2 separate regions of the Homo sapiens genome follow, and region 2 is linked to region 1. The links are contacts of gene promoters, found by promoter capture Hi-C in blood cells and fetal thymus (Javierre and others, 2016). All regions are on one chromosome and are shown on one strand. Each heading gives the region's core, a stretch centred on a gene start or on the middle of the fragment in contact. The rest is flanking DNA. Distances are from core to core; before and after follow the strand shown.

The links. The method cuts DNA at HindIII sites, captures the fragments that hold promoters and counts their contacts. A CHiCAGO score of 5 or more calls a contact.
Region 2: a contact is called between a fragment that was not itself captured here and the fragment with the promoter of OSTN in region 1, in 1 of 17 cell types (endothelial precursors). The highest score is 6.0, in endothelial precursors.

The regions. Positions count from the first base shown.
Region 1 is chr3:191,197,367-191,201,142 of GRCh38, forward strand. OSTN (osteocrin) reads left to right here and starts at 1,875. Exons shown (of 5, transcript NM_198184.2): 1 at 1,875-1,941. The HindIII fragment of the contact is 2,884 bases long and covers 627-3,510 here.
Region 2 is chr3:192,430,313-192,434,134 of GRCh38, forward strand. All of the region lies in intron 2 of FGF12 (fibroblast growth factor 12), which reads right to left. Among named protein-coding and RNA genes, the nearest start is that of FGF12-AS2, 83 kb to the right of the region's middle. The HindIII fragment of the contact is 1,616 bases long and covers 1,424-3,039 here.

The DNA of each region.
Region 1 (3,776 bases), core at 625-3,124:
GAATTAAATCATGACACGCTAGCTGAAAAAGTTTTCATTAATATTTTCTCCCTTTCTCATCTTAGACTCTCCCCATCCAACACTGAATATTTATTCTCTTTATCTTTTTATTTCTTTGCATGTTCCCATTTTTCCTCTCTCTTTTGAAGGTAATGGAATTTTTCTATCATGTGTAAATGCATAAGTAAATCATATAGAGGTGTATAATATACAGAAGGCTGTAAAAATGGCTTAAATGTACCATGGATGTTCCTGGAATAAACTGTTGCTATTTCAACTGCTGCAGAACAGTTAAGTCAAACTTTTGAATTAGGTCAACAAAATCCACAAATAGGGAGGAATCTTTGGACTGTCTAAGCAGGGACAGATCTGGAATAAATCAGCCACAGATATCACTTGTCGGCATGCTAAGAGCGGCATTTCAAATAAGGGTAGAAGGTATGCCAATAATATTGGCTTCTGGTAGCATTATGATGCATCCATTAATTCTATATTGAGAGTTTTCCATCATGTGGATTCAAGCTAACATAATTGTTTTATGGCAGTAATGTCTAAACAAGGGTCCACAATTAGGCTGTATTTTTATCTTGATTTGTGAACTGTCTCTGCCAACTACTCAAATTTCAAGCTTGTTGAGACATATGTTATCCCTGGAAACCCATCATAAAAATGAAGCATTTTACTGTCCCACTAATTCTGTGTGCTCTGGTCAGTTTCCCCATCTAGATCCAAATTAACCATGTAATTGTCCTTATACTAGTGACTAGTATTTTAAATGGCCTTTTTAGGGAAACCAAAAAGAATAAATTTATTGCTTTTTGTGCAAAAATATAATCTGGTTTGGATTCTCTTTTCTAGCTTTTAAAGCAGTGAGATAGAATGCAGTCGTGGGAAAAGAACTGGATATGGAATTAGGAAGATCTGCATTTGAAATCCAGCTCTGCGACTACTTCTTACGTGTGTGATCTCATAAAGTCACTTAATTTATCTGAGCCTTGGCCTCTTTACCTGTCAGATGGGGACCCTCTGGTGAATCAAATGAGCCATTAACGATCTAATAACATAACATGTTACCTTTATAACTTAATAATTCATTTAAAAAATAATTTGTGTATGTAAGGATGCAAATATAATTAGTAGGAGATAAGAATGAAAGAAAACCTTCAGCCAAAGGCAGAAATATTTTGGTTAAAAAGAAATCAAAGTACTGAAGAACAAGAGCAAGACAAAAATGATTACAACGTCTTCATTTATAGCTCACATGTCACAGCTCAGTATTTATAGGTTTGTTAGTGACAGCCTTCCCAGTATAGCAATGTTAATTACGAAGTAGCTGTCATTGTGTTTCACTGACACAGCACTGTGCACCTGACGGAGGCTGAAAGTACTCATTATTTCCATAGCTGATCATTTAAAGGTCCAAAAATTACACCAATAAATCCGTTTGTGTCTGATTACAATCTCTCTATATCGTACATTGAAATTCCCTGGTGACTTTTTAACAAATCTTAGTGCATTTTATTTCCCAAATATGATTTGTAATAATCAGAGCTTGACTAAAACCTCAGGAAGAGGTGATGGGTGTGAAGCTGAACACAATACTAAATCTATATTCAAATTTTCCAGAGCCTATACTTCCATCGTTATTTAAATGCCATGATCAAAGCAATAGATAGACTAAATATGGAGGGAAAGGAGGGAGGGAGAAACTGAAGAAGGAAGGGAGAGGGAGGGAGAGAAAGAGATCGAAGAGAGGCTTGGGAAAATGTTCAGTGGAAAATCTGTAGAAATGATGTAAGAGAAAGCAAAGGCAGGGATTGGAGTAAGGGGTGTATAACTGAGACTATAAAAACTCAGAGAGAAAACTCACCACCAGGGCTGAGTTTTGGAGAAACTGCAGAGACAGTACTCTAAAGTTAGAATCTCCTGATCTTTCACGAGGTAAGTTATATGTAAAAATTGATAAAGATTTAATGCTTCTTTTAACTATTATTTTTACTTTCACAGACTCTTTAAATGTTTTGATTATATCTTGATTTTGTTAAAATTAGAGTGGTAATATTTCCCTCTCTAAAATGAGTAGAAAATCAAAGATATTTTTGTAATGCAAACTTAAGGTAGAACTAATTGCTTATTCAGATATTTCATATTTATAAGATTGCTTTTCTCTTCCATTTCAAAACAAACAGAAAGTGAATGCAAAATAATAATTCTATACATATATATGTTATTAGCGTTATTTTGCTTTCCTCAAAATTGTGTAATATTAGAAAAATGTTTAATATAAAAGAGTGGTCTAAACAACCTAGGTAAAAAAGAAAGGTTTTTTCCTCATTATTTCTATCAAAACTGGAGCTTAAGAAACATCCCTAAACTAATGAAATTCTATCTCTTATGTTCTTAAAACCTAATGCATCTTCTGTTTTTCTCCTTATATGTCAAATATGCAAATATGATATTAATAACATAGTTGGAGTAGACTTAGAGTATGCCTGTTCTTCAGTATTTGTAGTGCTCTTGCTATTCAATGATTGAATTGAGAGTTAATCTGAAACATACATTTGAGCTCTGTTGGAGAAGAAATTTAAAATTTTATTTCAGGTTTAGTGTGCACTCAGTGAATTCAGTTCTAACAATTCAAATGTTGTTTCTTTGAATAACAGACTCTATAGGTTTAGGAATGTGATTATTATTTGTTTATGAGTTTTCCTTCTAAAAATTTAACATTTTTGAGAATGAATTATGGTAATTTTAATGCCTATATAAGTTATAGAATTGATAGTGTTATACCAAAAACACCAGGGACATTCTGTGTTTTCTCTTACTTTGGTACTACTCTTCAGCACGCTTACAGAACTTTTCTAAGGAGCACTTTCTGTAGATAACAGTTCAGGTCTCCTTCATGTCAGTGAATTTTACTATGGCTTCATTCAAAAATTATTCAGAGTGTTTAAGGTTGACATTTGCTTTCTCCCCCTTATTTCTCAGGATTTTTAACTGATTCTTATATACTGAATAATGAGCAGTAGAGAAGCAGATATCTTCAGTTGACTGGGCACGGGAACCTCAGGGCTATAATTTTAACTTCTTTTACAAATACTCTCAATGATTTGAACATTTGATTAATAAAATTAGATTAATTGAACTTGTCTCAAAAATAAAGAACTCGAAGTAAGAAATCCTAATATATCATTCTAGCTCTGCTATAATCCACCTATACAACTGCAGGCAAGCCTTAAGCACGAATTAAGGCTTGATAATATTGTATTTTGTCCTTGTGAAAAGGACAAAAAAAAATAGAAGTGCTAGGGATACTGAGTATAAAAATATTTGAGGAAGCCCCCATGTCAGTCAATTTTCCCTATATTAGAGAATAAAACCTCAGTATCACAGAAGTTTAGGACTAATCTTTAGAGCTAATTTAACTGCTTTGCCAATATTTCATTTACTATGACTGTTACCTACCAGACAACTTTTGCTTAGATTCAATAGTTCAGTCAGAGAAATACAAGCTTTGGAGGCAGAAAACTAGACTTCTAATTCTAGTTCTGACTTCGACAGCTTTATGGACAAACCATTCAGCTTCCCTGAAGCTTTATTCTCCTCCCCTCAGGAGCTTGTGGGGATACAACAAGTAAGCTACAACAAGGTGCTAACTCTGGGTATCTCTCTTAAATGAACCAACTCTCCAAATGGCTTAAGATCTCTCAGATTAAAGGCTTCATTTTTTATTTATTTATTTATTTTTTTTAGCTAGCTCTTTCTCTTCTTTCTTC
Region 2 (3,822 bases), core at 982-3,481, 1.2 Mb after region 1:
TCATATCCACAGAAGAATAAAGTAGGGTGGTGGTTTCCAGGAGCTGGATAAGGGGAAAATGGGGAATAGCTGTTCGGTGGGTATAGTTTCGGTTCTGCAAGATGAAAAAGTTTTGGAGATCCATTGCACAGCGGTGTACTTAATATTACTAAACTGTACACTTAAAAATAGTAAAGATGGTAAAGTTTATCTGTTTTATCTCAATGAAAAATAAAGAACTGGATCTTCTTTGAAACAAAATGCCTGCAATTATTTCAACCTCACCCCTGCCATTTAGGTTTTGATTACCACTCTCTAAATAGTTACCACACAATGTACAAATATTTCTCAAAGTAATAATCAAGTTGGCTAGAAGACATTCAATTCATTTATTGGGGTCCTATTATGCCTGAAGTAATGAGTTTGGCCCTAGGGTGAAAGGGGGAATGAGGGAAGGCATTTCGCCACCATGAAGAGGGTAGTCTTGGGTGGGTCTTAGTGACCACAGGTAAGGAAAGACATGACTCCTGTTGATACGGAATACAACAACCTGCTTCTGTACTATAACCAGTGTATTGGGAGCATAATTGTTATTGGAATTTCTCAACCTTTGAGTTTTTCAAACAATTGGGTCTATGCTCAATATCAACAGTTTTTAAATTCCACTGAACACTTCTCTATTTCAAGAGATACCTGAGGTTTTCATGTTAACCTCAAGTCACAATGGAGTCCACCCACTTTCTCCAAGCACCAGATATTATTTTGAAGATATCCTGTAAGCCAAAGGAATGAAGGAACAGATGATATGAGTTATCTTGAGAACTCCAACATAAATGAGATCTGAATGGAGAAATTACTTGGATCACTCTAACAAAGGCAAAAACGGCCTTTACCACCCACAATGAATCCCAGAGATAAGCTCGCCCTACTTACACAGGAGCTGGGTTCTGAAAAGAGAAACTTCAGCGGTACCTGTAAGCAGTTGTAGGTGAAACCTTTCCATTTAAAGTTTGTATCAGGTTGATTTTCTTGGAAATCAAAATAGAAAGGAGCTGATTAGATCTTAGCTAAAGGGGAGAAACAAAATAGCTGGAGTCCCTGATGGTAAAGCTGTATTAAAAAGAAAACGTGTGAAGGAGAATTTAAAAAGCATATAGCACTTTATTCTTGTATTTCTATTGCCAATGTGACTAGAAAACTAAAGAAAACCAAGAGACTCTTTTTATACTGTTATTCTACTTCCTGTAATGAAAAATGACAGGGAGAAGTGGAAAATCAGTTCAAAATACAAAACCTGCTCAACAGAAAACAATTCTGATAGAATCACAGAATCCTAGGGTTGGAAGGTCAAGTTGCCCAACTCAAGTACCAAGCGTTTCTCCAATGATGACTTGTATTATCATAAAGTGTATAATAGACTTGTATCTAGACTTAGACTTATGTAAGCTTTCTATTATCTAGAAATGTTGTTGAAATACTAAACTCAACATGTCAAATCAGCCTAACTTGTCCCATTGCTTATCAGATAACAGCTGGGATAACAGCATTAACCTTCACCAGGTCATTTAATAGGAAGCACAGGGCATCCTCTCTGACTACAGCCTCTCCTTCATGTACCCCAAGCACAGCACACACATATCAATACACATGTACACTATGCTGTTTCCACAATGTCTCTTTGTTGTCTTTTTTCTGTTCCCACTGGCAGCCCTTTATCCAGGCATTCCATCACCGTTCACCTCGGCAGCACCACATAGATCAGGTCTGCTTACCTGTGGCATCTCCCTCTTAATTCCCATTCTTCAAGGGACTTATTTCAACCACCATCTTTCAATGTTTACTGACACCAGTTATGTCCCAGGAGCTGTCCTAAGTACTAACAAAGATGCAAAAATGAATGATGACTTTTGCCTTTAAGTAGCTGAGAGTCTAATGGAGGTAACACAACCTAATAAATAAGTGTACTACAGGTCAGAATAAACCAAATACAATCTTGTTCAAAGTGTTGTGGGAGTATTGATTCATATGATGGAAGGAATGACGGTAAGGCCAGACCTTAAAGAATAAGAGACATTCCAAAAACACAACAAGATTCTCGTCCCCTAAAATGCATACCCTATATAATCCACTCCCCTTCGACATAAGTAGGAGACCATGAATATGATGAGATATCACTCTCTGGATTGTGTTGTGTAAGACCCCTCCTTAGCAGATCAGAGAGAGAGTCCTAATGGCCTTAAAGGAGAAATTGTCATGTTGTGAACCGCCTGTGGGAAGGGCCATGGGGCAAGGTCCTGTAGGAACTGAGAGAGCATTGCTGACATCTGGCAAAAAAAAAAAAAAAAAAAAAAGAAAGAAAGAAAGAAAGAAAAGAAAAGAAAGGATGTCAGTCTTGCAAACACAAGGAATTGAATTCTGCCAGCAGCCCGAAAGAACTTGCAAGAGGATCTGAGCTCCATGTGAGAACCAACAGCACGGCAAACACTTGGCAGTTTTGTGAGAACCTGAGTAGAGGACCCAGTGAAGCTGTGTCCGGTTTACTGACCCACCGAAACTGAGATATGAGCATGTGTTGTTTTGAGTAATAATTTGTTATGCAGCATGAGAGAACTATTACACCTTCCCTAAATGAAGTGAGTCGGGGTGGTCTGTAGCATTGGTGAACTCCCTGAGGGTACCATATCATCTGATTTCCCACACAATTTCTAGGGAATGGTACCCTTCAGATCGTCAAACGTGAGAATCCAGCTGTCATCAATCTCCTCCCACCCCCTCGCTCCAACGCACACATATGTTCTATCCAGGGAATTCCTAGAAAGGGCATTGATTCATCATTTTTAGATTCATTGTCTTTGAGGGCACCCCCAGGGACCCTGGCACCCCAGTCATTGTGCTGAGAAAACAGAATCACAGTACTTTAGATATAGAATGATCCTTAAAGATATTTGGGAGTAATCTTCTCCTGATCCTCATTTTAGATGAAAACAGGCCCAAAGTGTCTTCTTTCACCTCCTACAAATAGTCAACTGCAGAAGGACAAACAAGTTTTGTGTGGCCTGAAGCTTATATAACTTGGGAAACTCTCCTTAAAGAAAATAATACAAATTTACAAATATCAAATTACTTACCAAGCAAATATTTACTAAATATAAGAAAAAGAATTTAGACCAAATTGCGCATTTGAAAAATTAACATCACAAAATTCAGACACAGCTTTAATACCTTTTCTTTATAATTTTTGTCTGTAAATGTTTTCATCCTGTAACATAAATGTTAACAATATTTTCTGTAAAACAGATGATCAGTCTCACCTCCAATGTGACTAACTTATTTTTAATTGTGAAAGTTAAGAATTGTTAAATTCAGCTTTACCACTCATTATTGCTAACGTCATGTAAATATTTAGACTAGTATCAAATTTGATTTTAAAACAAACTCAGTTTCCTTGATTTCTCAAATATTTCACATATGAGCTAAGAAACGTGGGAGAATTTCCCACGATTAATTCCTGTACACTTCACCTCCCCATGGGGTATGTTCACAACACAATTCAATCTCTTGCCATGCACTTTTGTGCCATGCCCCACACTGAGTCAGCACAGTGGGCAGTTTCAGTATTTCTGGCCATTTCGACATCAGGAGGGCTGGCAATGATTTACTAGTAAGTGACTGTAAACATAAATGATAATCCTACCAAAACCAAGCTAAATGTATCCCCAGTTCAACTTCTCCTTAGCCAGAGCCAAAACTGGCAATGACGAATCCACCACCCTTAAACAGAGAAAAACTGATAAAGCAAATGGCCGAGTGGAAAAAGATAGCAACCTTAACCAATTGTGGAAA